Linked DNA regions of Homo sapiens: all the other regions are linked to region 4. The links are contacts of gene promoters, found by promoter capture Hi-C in human tissues and cell types (Jung and others, 2019). All regions are on one chromosome and are shown on one strand. Each heading gives the region's core, a stretch centred on a gene start or on the middle of the fragment in contact. The rest is flanking DNA. Distances are from core to core; before and after follow the strand shown. Region 1 has its middle 54 kb from the start of SYT1. Region 2 overlaps SYT1 (synaptotagmin 1). Region 3 has its middle 38 kb from the start of SYT1. Region 4 holds the start of SYT1 (synaptotagmin 1).

Evidence for each region. Contacts are between HindIII fragments. The study calls those that stand out against the background at their distance.
Region 1: a fragment that was not itself captured here is called in contact with the fragment with the promoter of SYT1 in region 4 in 2 of the 25 tissues and cell types used here (pancreas and spleen).
Region 2: a contact is called between a fragment that was not itself captured here and the fragment with the promoter of SYT1 in region 4, in 6 of the 25 tissues and cell types used here (adrenal gland, dorsolateral prefrontal cortex, hippocampus and 3 more).
Region 3: a fragment that was not itself captured here is called in contact with the fragment with the promoter of SYT1 in region 4 in 4 of the 25 tissues and cell types used here (dorsolateral prefrontal cortex, mesenchymal stem cells, spleen and 1 more).

What each region holds. Positions count from the first base shown.
Region 1 is chr12:78,808,858-78,811,821 of GRCh38, forward strand. No RefSeq gene overlaps it. Among named protein-coding and RNA genes, the nearest start is that of SYT1, 54 kb to the right of the region's middle. The HindIII fragment of the contact is 3,928 bases long and covers 1-2,964 here.
Region 2 is chr12:78,904,055-78,906,920 of GRCh38, forward strand. All of the region lies in intron 1 of SYT1 (synaptotagmin 1), which reads left to right. LOC105369863 (a long non-coding RNA gene) reads right to left here. Exons shown (of 7, transcript XR_007063385.1): 7 at 970-1,102. Among named protein-coding and RNA genes, the nearest start is that of SYT1, 41 kb to the left of the region's middle. The HindIII fragment of the contact is 5,273 bases long and covers 1-2,866 here.
Region 3 is chr12:78,825,220-78,828,001 of GRCh38, forward strand. No RefSeq gene overlaps it. Among named protein-coding and RNA genes, the nearest start is that of SYT1, 38 kb to the right of the region's middle. The HindIII fragment of the contact is 4,062 bases long and covers 1-2,782 here.
Region 4 is chr12:78,863,524-78,866,225 of GRCh38, forward strand. SYT1 (synaptotagmin 1) reads left to right here and starts at 1,251. Exons shown (of 11, transcript NM_005639.3): 1 at 1,251-1,586. RefSeq lists a silencer at 35-94. The HindIII fragment of the contact is 3,235 bases long and covers 1-1,615 here.

The sequences.
Region 1 (2,964 bases), core at 62-2,561, 55 kb before region 4:
TAATTTATTCTTTTAAAGAAAAGTACAATTTATAGTATAGTTGTTAAGATTGTTTAGTAAAGCAAATATGTTGGTAAAATAAGCAACTTTTTAAAAATCTGAAATTATCACCAAGATGAAATTACAGAATTTATAAAAATCTCCTCTATCATGAATTACTTTCTACTGAAACAATTCCTAATAACTTATTTTCACAAAGACTTAAGAATTATTCTAGTTGTAATAGTCCTTCATAAAAGTTACTGGGACTTAAAGTCTTCATTTTGTAAGAACAACATTTTAGTGCTGGAACATTGGCTGACTCCCTCCCACAAGATCAATGTTGTATGAAAAATGGAAAACACTCAAAATAGAGAAAACCTCACAAAGCTTATGGGGTTCTGTTTTGAACTAGTGTATGTGTTTCGTGTCAGGGGATGGGGAGGAAGGGCAGAGAATAAAATTTTTAGCATGGGGCATGGCAATGTTGTAGAAAGGTAAAGTAGAAAATAACTCTTGGGATTAAGTTTCTGCCATTGCCTTGGAGAGAACAAATGTGTGCCCCCACACCGGCCATGATTTAGAGCACCAGTCAGGAGTTTATCAGGAGTAAAATGTGGAGCCGTATGCATTTGAGAATTTGAGTAAAACAGGTGAAAATAACTAAATTTAGGCAGTGTTTTCACACCACTTTTTTTCTAAACTTTCTGGACTGATGAATTATATTCTAAAAAGGCTCTCCTCCTAATGGTCTTTGGTAGGGGTGGGGGTGAAGGCAAAACCTTTTCTGATTTTAGGAAGTGAAAAGGGAATTCCTGTGGTTTTCTGGTAACTCCAAATATTCATCCTAGAGCTCATTTCAGCTCTTCAGAGCCATCCTGGTCTTTCCAAATTGTCTGCAAATAGCTGATATACTCACAGGCAAATAAATACGTTTACTGGGTAAAATAAAATAAAATAAAACCAAACTTCTCCCAACACAACTGCTTAAACAAACTGTTCTTACTGTGAAGAAGCTAATCTTGAACTAATAGACAAAATAACCCAAACACTTTTTTGTTTGTTTGTTTGTTTGTTTTGAGATGGAGTCTTGCTCTGTCACCCAGGCTGGAGTGCAGTGCTGTGATCTCAGATCACTGCCACCTCTACCTCCCTGGTTCAGCCAATTCCCCTGCCTCAGCCTCCCAAGTAGCTGGAATTACAGGAGCACGCCACCATGCCCAGCTAATTTTTTTGTATTTTTAGTAGAGACCGGTTTCACCATGTTGGCCAGACTGGTCTCAAACTCCTGACCTCAGGCAATCCTCCGTCCTTGGCCTCCCACAGTACTGGGATTAAAGGCGTGAGCCACCTCGTCTGGCCACCCAAACATTTTTATCTTCCCTCTGTAGAATTATCTATAATTGCTGCTCCAGGGGAATGTTATAAAGTTTATCAGCAACAGTAAAAGGAGCACATTATTCATAGAAAGCTGTTATGAGAAGAAAAGATATAGTAGGAATCAAAACTTTTTAGCTGAAGCAACACTCCCAAAACATGCCAACCATGAATCAGAGGAAAACTGATACACAACATCAACATAAATTAAACTTAATTGAATCAATTGTTAGAGATAAGATACACCACAATGAAGTAGAAATTCAAACTACTGAATTTTAAGTAGAAATTCTGAAAGTAGAAATGAAAAATACATTATTTACCAGATTAATTGAAGAAAAATAAAAAGTCAAATCTGAAGTGAATATTAAAATAATAAATGGTCATGGGAGAATCAACATGATTGAATGTACAGTGATAGAGATGATACATGCAAAAAACAGCAAAAATAAAATTTGAAAATATAGATTAAAATATGAATAAAAGATATAGATCTGGAAGGCAGGCACGGGAGATCTAACATACCTATAATTGGAATTTGAATATGTAAAAATAAAACAAAATAGTACAAAAAAGCTAAACGTTTTTAAATGTTCTGAAATGGTGAAACCCCGTCTCTACTAAAAATACAAAAAATTAGCCCGTCGTGGTGGTGGGCGCCTGTAGTCCCAGCTACTCAGGAGGCTGAGGCAGGAGAATGGCGTGAACCCGGGAGGCGGAGCTTGCAGTGAGCCGAGATCGCTCCACTGCACTCCAGCCTGGGCAAGAGAGCGAGACTGTCTCAAAAACAACAACAACAACAAAAAAAAGCACCTAATTTTTCCACTAAAGAGGTCCATCTTTGTAATTAGAAAAATTAACCCGGAAGGGTCAAGTCCAAAACATATCACAGTAGAATTTTTAGAAAATCTGTTCTTCTATACAAAAAATGAACAAAAATAACAACAAAAAACACAAAGGCCAACCAAATCATTTTTTAAAGAAAAATAATTGGCATCAAAATTTCCAATATTGTGTGGAGCAATATTTTTAAGTTACTGGGAAAAAATAGTCTAAGCAAAGCATTTTCTTTTGGATAAATTGATTTTCGAGTATCAGAGCTAATAAAAACTGACTTAAACATTAAAAAATACAGAAACTATTTTAGTAGAAGAATAAATAAACATAGGGGACAAAGAGAAAATAAAAAATACAATGGTTAACGTTCTCACAAGTGGGAGCTGAGCAATAAGAACACATGGACACAGGGAGGGGAAAAACACACACTGGGGCCTGTCATGGGGGGCGGGGGAGGAAGGGCATCAGGATACATAGCTAATGCATGAGGGGCTTAATACCTAGGTGATGGGTTGATCTGTGCAGCAAACCACCATGGCACACGTTTACCTATGTAACAAACATGCGCATTCTGCACAAGTATCCCAGAACTTAAGGTATAATAAAATTTTTAAAAATTTGTAGAGAAGCTATTTTACTTATGAGCCAACCTGAAATATTTACTGGTGGACAAGCATCATCCCACCAAAACATGATAGGAGAAATTTCAAAAAAAATTATTTTTCAAGGAAAAATTCTAATGGAAGCACCTAGAAATAAAGCCACATTACT
Region 2 (2,866 bases), core at 261-2,760, 41 kb after region 4:
GCTATATATCATAACAGTTATTAGAATCCCCGGTAACCAAAATTTAGTCATAAACCAAATTTACTAATTTTTGTTTTTATAGTGAAATGTTACAATTTAAAAAACAAACTGGAAACACTAGTGTGTATTGAATTTGAATTTATATTTTTATAGACAATGTTTTCCTATAAATATTTGTGAGATTTTAAATTGGTCATGATCTGCATATGACTTAGCCTTATGATACTTCTATATTAAGTTACATGTGATTTATCCATTGGAAAGCTAATGGAAAGCTTAGATACATTGAAGAGAGACACTATTAACGTGTAAAAATATAAAATTTGAATTTTTTAGTAAGTATTCAATGAGCACCTACTCTGGAAAAAAATAATGTACTGGATCTTTGGAGAACATGGATGTATAAAACATCATAACCTCTATTCACCAGTTTTCGAGTATCTCGACCTAACTCTGCCCAAGGATGAAACTCATTAATTCTAGAGTAGCTCATGATACGTAAGTCAACCTGAAACACAGAAAAACTATCTTTATATGGAAAACTTTTAAAAAGAAAAGTGCTGCAAGATAATGTTATTTGACATTTGAAGGGAAGAGATACATATTCCATTGTTCAAAAATGATGCAAAATCTGCTCCATTACATGAGTAATATTATATGAGCCATAGTCTATACAACATAAAAATACACAAGTGGACATTCTTAGTGTTCTAATAACATACATACAATTTTAACCTGAAAGATCAAATTATATATATAATTGTCATTGGCAATTAGGCATAATAGAACTAAATGTTTTAGAAGAGATTTTATTTTTTTGGTAAAAGATTTCAAAGTTTAAATAGAATCAACTTTCACTTAAATCCATTTAATAGTTTGTAATATTGTCCTATCTTGAGTCTCAATTATCATTGTATTTAATCATCTTATAATAAGAAGGCCAAATATGAATTAAGCAATCTCCTAAGATATCTCATAAAACTGTAGCTTTTTTGTTGTTATTGTTCTTACCTGAATACATCCAATAGTAGGCACTGATTACTTGGTAAGGCAATTTTTTGTTCCAGGACCATTCTAATCTTGAGAAATGTCTTCCTGTTTTCTGTGGGCCAGAAAAGTTTATCATCTTTCTTTAGTAACATGTTGCCATGATTTTAAAGAGATTAATTATCTGGGGCCAGCCCATAGTTCCTTCTTAGTAGAAGTACAGAAATCCCGCGGGGGGCGGGAACTGACTTACCTACACACTTCCACATAACATACAATGGGTTTTGCCATTAAGATCAGCTTTAGGAGTAAGAATCCACCAATTTCATGGAGAATTGGAAACTCTCCCTATCCAAATTATCTAACTTGTATGTTGACAGTGGTGTCCCGGTGGTAATTGAAGGAAAACAGTTGTAATAGTAATAGCTAAATTGTCTTGAACACTCACTAATATCAGCTTTACATTCAATGTTTCCTTCAAAGTCATACAATTTATGTTTACTAAAATTCCTTAAGCAGGAATGGTTGGGAGAAAGGTAAACCATCTATTCTTCTCCCCTAACCTTTTATTACATGGCATCTACAATATATTGGATTTTGATTTTCTTACTGTTGTTTATTTTCATTTTATTTCAGTTTCAATAAAATAAACCTAAATACCTGAACATTGGACTATTATTCCTTTTAAGGGAAATGACCTAGGAAAAGTAAAGATAGAGTTTTTTGACCTTTTTAATTTTTTTTTAAATTACAGCACATTACAAGGCTATTAAAAGTGTTGTAAATAATGTAAAATCTATTTAAAACTCTAATATGGAGAAAAATTACTCTAATTATATGTGCTGCAGCATCAAGGAAGTTTTTTCCCCCAAAGGGCTTCTCATATTTCATAAACACTGATGAGTTTTCCCTTCACCGAAGTAACATCAAAATTATATTTGTAATTTAGAAGTAAGTCTCCTTGTCAGTATATTTCAAGGAATCTGAAGAAATAAAAGCACTATTTTTAGCATACTCCAATCAAGCCAGTAAATAAAGATATGGAATATATAAATATAAAGAAATTTGTGTATTTAGAAAGTACAATTATAAAAGAGGTTCCTTTCAATAGAAGATGATTTATTGAATTATTTTCTATAACATTAAGAAAGTCTTGAAATAGAAAAAAAAACAAAATGAAATCAAATATTAAGTTCTGGTGATTGATTTTATTGTAGGCTTTTGTGTATGTATTCAAAAAGTAGGAAGATGTTCTGAGGGAAAAATGTATTTCCTCATGACAAGTGGAAGTTCATTCAAGTATTTAACAAATACTGGTGAGTACCTGCCAAGTACCTGATTCTAAGGGCTGAAGATATAGCAGTGCCCAGAACAGAAAAAGATACCAACCTTCATTTAGTTTATGGGATAATAGAGAGAAGCAGATAGATGTACTAAGTTGTAAAATATTTAGTATGTCAGACTCTAAAATTCTATAGAGAAAAGAAAGGGAAAAAGGCCGTAACAGCAGTAAATACATGAGTTGTCTGTGGGCCACAAATTCATGCGACAGCATTCAAGTTGTGAGGGATACACTGGAAGTCCTGGCCTCTTGTGGAAATTAGAGTAAACAGAGGATTCATTCTGCCTGTCTTGATGCAGGTCGTGGACAGACTGGGGGTGTCTGTCCTGGTGTAAGAAATGACCAGAGTCCTGCCAGGAAGAAGCAGTGTTCTGGGCTCTATCTTTACTCTGCTAGAGCACCACGGTATCCCTAGGCCGTATTGATCATTCTGTCATTTTCAGGTTAACATCTCATCACCAAAACATTTATTTTAGTGCCTACTGTGTCAAACGTTATGCTATATCTTGTGCATACAAAGAAAATTAAGACTTCATA
Region 3 (2,782 bases), core at 138-2,637, 38 kb before region 4:
ACAGAATCAGGTATATTGCTGTGTAAAGGCATTTTCAAGTGTCAGCTGTGACTTTGATCACTCTTATAGTCATATAACCTTTTTGTTAGAACTAATAAATAATAAATACCCAAGATTCTTAATTTTGAAAATAACAATTGAGTTATTTGGCTCTATGGAATTGCAAATGCCTATATTCTGAACATTACGGAAATACTAGAAGTTTTCACTTGGACTTTCATTAAAACATCATATATCCAAATGATATGCTTTATGAATACAAACTTAGAGTAAAATTTTAATTTGAAATTCAAACCCAAACAAATTTAATTCCAAGGATTCCAAAGCCCATGTTCTTCCCACCACATAATATTAGAGTTGCAGGTATTTTATTAATTTTTATGGAATGTGTGTATATCATTAAATTAAACAGAGAGAAAAGCATTTTAGACCACATCAAAATGGCATCTAGACACAAAGCCCTGGTAACATTTTATATCTGTAGGTTTAAACAAATGAAGTAAAACTCAGAAGGATTCCATGTGTATGAAATTCTGATTTATTAAGGCCACTTTTTGTCTGGAGTGGCTTGACATGTCACCAGGACACAATAATCATCTCTAGCATAATATATATCCTGTAGCTCACCAATTTACATTCCATTAGTAACTTGCTAATTTTTATACAAATATTCATTTTTCTCTATATGTTTGACTAAACCCAAAATGAGCCATTTCAAATAGCTAACAAATATTACACTTTTTAAATTAATTAAATACTGTTTGAATTTATGAATGAATTTTTTTTTAATTTCAGAAGCTGTTACTCCCTTCCTTATCCTTAACTGGAAGTTAAGACTACAGATTCTGAGTTAGACCAAGCTTCAAATTCCAGATATGCCATTTATTTGCGGTGTAACCTTGGAAGATAATAATAATGATTTCATTGGCTAATTATGAGAATTAGGCAATTTCATTTGACTAACGCACTTCAAACAACACCCACACATAGTGAATACTCAGAAAACATCAAGAAATACCTGTCTATAATACTTGATTTCTAGTGTATTTATTTTCTCTTTTCCCTCCTTTTTACTTCATTTTTCTGACAAGTGATAAATAATAATTATAAAAAATTAGAATATATGAAAAATAAAACTCATGGCATCTCCATCTAATCACATGTGCTATAAATATTTGAGAGTGTTGCTTCTTTTTTAAAATTTTGTTTTAGGTTCAGGGGTTCATGTATCGTTTGTCATATAGGTAAACTTGTGTCATGGGAGTTTGGTGTACAGATTATTGCATCACCCAGGTACTAAGCCTAGTACCCAACAGTGATTTTTTCTGATCCTATTCCTCCTCCTACCCTTGACTCTCAGCTATGCCCTGGTATCTGTTATTCCCTTCTTTGTGTCCATAGGTACTCTATGTCTAGCTCCCACTTATAAGTGAGAACATGTTATATTTGGTATTCTGTTCCTGTGGTTGCTTGCTAAGGATAATGGCCTCCAGCTCCAAACATGTTCCTGCAAAGAACATGATCTTGTTCTTTTTTTATGGCTGCACAATATTCCATCTTACATATGTACCATATTTTCTTTATCCAGTTTGCCATTGATGGACATTCAGGTTGATTCTATGTTTTTGCTATTGTGAATAGTGCTGCAGTAAACATACACATGTAGGTGTCTTTATGGTAGGACAATTTATATTCCTTTGGGTATATACCCAGTAATTAGATTGCTAGATTGAATGGTAGTTCTGTTTTCAGTTCTTAAAAGGAATCACCACACTGCTTTCCACAATAGTTGAACTAATTTACACTTCCACCAGCAGTGTATAAGTGTTCCTTTTTCTCCACAACCTCATCAGCATCTGTTATTTTTTTACTTTAGTAATAGCCATTCTGACAGGTTGAGATGGTATCTCATTGTGGTTTTGATTCCATTTCTCTAATTATCAGTGATATTAAGCATTTTTATATACTTGTTGGCCGCATGTAGGCCTTATTTTAAAAAGTGTCTGTTCTTGTCCTTTGCCCACTTTTTAATGGGATTTTCATTGCTGTTTGTAAATTTAAGTTCTTTGTAAATGCTGGATATTAGATCTTTGTCAGATACATAGTTTGCAACTATATTTTTCCCTTCTGTAGACTGTTTACTCTCTTGGTAGTTTCTTTGCTGTGCAGAAGCTCTTTAGTTTAATTAGATCCAATTTGTCAATTTTTGCTTTTGTTGCAGTTACTTTTGGTGCATTGATCATGAAATCTTTGCCAGTTCCTATGCCATAAATGGTATTGCCTAGGTTATCTTCCAGGGTTTGTATAGTGATGGGTTTTACATTTAATCTTTAATCCATCTTGAGTTGATTTTCATAGATGGTGTAAGAAGGGGTCCAGTTTCAATCTTCTGCATATAGTTACCCAGTTATCCCAGTGCTATTTTTTGCATATGGGGCCTTTTCCCCACTGCTTGTTTTTGTAAGCTTTGTCAAAGATCAGATGGTTGTAGGTGTATGGCATTATTTCTGGGTTCTCTATTCTGTTTTGTTAGTCTATGTGTCTATTTTTATACCAGTACCTTGCTGTTTGGGTTACTGTAGCCCTGTAGTACAGTTTGAAGTTGGGTAACATAATGCCTCCAGCTTTGTTCTTTTGATTACCTAGGCTATTTGGGCTCTTTTTTGGTTCCATTTGTATTTTAAAATAATTTTTTCTAATTCTGTGAAGAAAATGTCATTGGTAGTTTGATAGGAATAGCACTGAATCTGTAAGTTGCTTTGGGCAGTATAGCCATTGTAAC
Region 4 (2,702 bases), core at 1-2,500:
GATAATGGACGGGCCCCTCTCCCAGCTGGGCTCCGCTCCCGCCCCTAGCCTGGCGCGCGGTCCCTTCCCCCACCCGCTGAGCCTTCCTGTTCGGTATTTCGGTATTACCAAGCTATAAATTGCCTGAGAGCTTAGAGACAATCAGGTCACCACCGCCCTCACAAGAGAAAAGCTTCTTACTTCCGAGCAGAACGGTTCAGCTGGGAAGAGAGGAAGCAGGGAGAGAATCTATGCTTTAGTCGTCACTGCTCTGGCAAGGGGTCGAGAGAGATGGGGGAGGGAGGTGGCAAAAAATAAAAATGAAAAAATAAAAAAGCATCTCCAACAATGTTGCACTTGACCCAAGTGTACAAACTTATTGGTCGCTGCAATGGAAACTCCCAGTGCACTCTCCACGGCCTGGCAGCCGCCGCTGATGGGTGGAGTCGCGCTCCCGGCCCCACCTATGGGACGGAGCTGCTTCTCCCGCATCTCGGCTCCACCGCACCCTTCGCGGGAAGTCCCCAGGCTTCCAGCAAAGCTCAGCTTATCCCGCCCCCGCTTCCAACCCGGAACCCCAGAAGAACAGCATGATGAGCCTCCGGCAGCCAGGTGGGCCACCTCCCCGCGGCTCAGTTTGAGGACACTTGTGCGGAACCCTTTCACATCCCCACCCTACCCAGCTTTCACAACTCCGCCGGGTTAAATGGCCAAAGACAAACTTCTACCTCTCCTGTCCCCGGTCCCAGCTTTTCAAAAACCCACAGCTGGCGAACCCACACACATCGAAACTCCTAGGTCGCTGTTGCAGTCTGGGCATGCTCAGTATCAGGGTAGGTTTTGATTGAGAGTAAAAAAAAAAAAAAAAAAGCTTTGTATTATGCTCTCTTTCTCCTGTGCATACTGCTTGCTGAACAGCTTGTGGGGCATTCCTGAGTCTACCTAGAGGTTTTATCAGACGCCCTTGATTGTGTCTCCTTGGGATCTGTTCCCCTCTTACTTCACCCCCTCCCCCAACCCGCCTCCACCCCGCTTCCCAGGTCCCTGTCCGCTGTGGGGATGGAGAGACACTAACAGAACTGGGATGGGCGATGTTGGCTGAACGGATCCACCTATTATTAGTGCGCGGGGATTGGCTCCTTGGCGCAGCGTACCCGAGGTGGAGCCAATCAGGATGCTGGGGCTCGGAGATGATGGGCGGCCGCCTCCTCACTGGAGGGATTCCTGGAGAAGCTGCAGTGTGGGGATGCTCTAGACCGAGTACTGCCCCCAGTGTCTTTCCACCTCCTCCTGCAGCAGCGGCAGCGGCAGCAGCAGTTAGCAGCGGCAACTTGAGGCTGCACCCCGGGCAAGTCCCCAGGGTGGTGCTCAGCCGAGAGGGGGGCTTGGCGCCCCGAAGGGGTGTGTGTAGGGTGGGGGCGACCACGTGGGACCAGCTGGTGGCCCTGGAAAACCTCCCACACACCCACACCCACACACCCCTTTTGTGTTGCAGGCTGCCCCTCCAAGAGCGGAGGCAGCGAGAGTACGCGTGTGCCTCGCGCCGGTCCACGCGGGGAGAGCACTGGGGACCGAGACCCGGCACCACCTCCCGGTCCGCCCTCCAGGTAAGGAAGCGGGACTGGCGGCGCGGCCACCTCGGCGGTGCCTATCTGCTCGAATCCATCCCAAAGATTTTCTTCTCGATACACTTGGGTTTTAGTGGTGGGAGTCTGAGACCTAGGGAGGGATCCCCGGGTGGCCTATTGTGAGAAATATGAGACTACATGTGCATCTCCTGGAAAAGCACTTTGCACAGCGCCCGTGATTTAGAGCCTGGAGTTGATGTTGGGCATCCCCCATCTTCTTGCTTCCTCTTTCCTTCTCTTGTTCTCTCTCCTCCGTCCCCCACCCCCAATCTCAATCTTTTCTCTCTTTCTCTCCCACACCTCCCCTCTCGCCCTCCTCCCACCCTAAGCACGCACAGCGTTTCTTTCTCCTCCTGGAGAGGATTGCCTTTCTTAGAGGAAAGAGGGGGAGTGAAGAAAGGAGAAAGATTTCTTTCTGTTGGGGAGAGGGATATGGGGGGGGGGGGGAACGTAAACAAGATAGAATACAAGCTCTGCGAAAATCAGAGCACATAAAGCAATTAAACTGAATAAGGGGAGTAGACAACCAGTCCAGCTTGGGCTGTCAGAGAGAGGAAGCGTCAAGTTTGACTTGATTTCCTCCTTGCAAGAGTCTATGTCTCTCACTTGATTCGTTCAAATGGAACAAAAATAAACCGACAATCCAACCCACTTTCAACTGCTTAATTGCTTTTGCTTTTGAGTGCCAACCATCTGACTTTTCCTGTTTCCATCTGTCCTGTGGGGCTAACAATTTGGTATTGCACATCAGTGTTAATATCTGAACTTTGAAAGCTTTCTTGAGTAACAAAAAAAAAAAAACAATTAAAATAGATTATTACTTTCCTGAGGTTTCTTGGTATGGCCTGTTGTTGGGGGATCAAAAAATGTAAAGTTTCAAAACATTTGCAAGGGACAACAATTTTATAGGGAGGCTTGGATTTCTACTTTGAGAAAGCTAATCTTCTAGTTAGCTTTGTGTACATGTTGATATTCACTTTCTCCAGTATTAACCCTTTCGTGAAATAAAGCAACTGTTTAACTTTTGTATGGAAGCTACATTTGTGTAGAATTTTCACTTTATTCTACCTTTGTACTATTTGCATTTTATTGTCT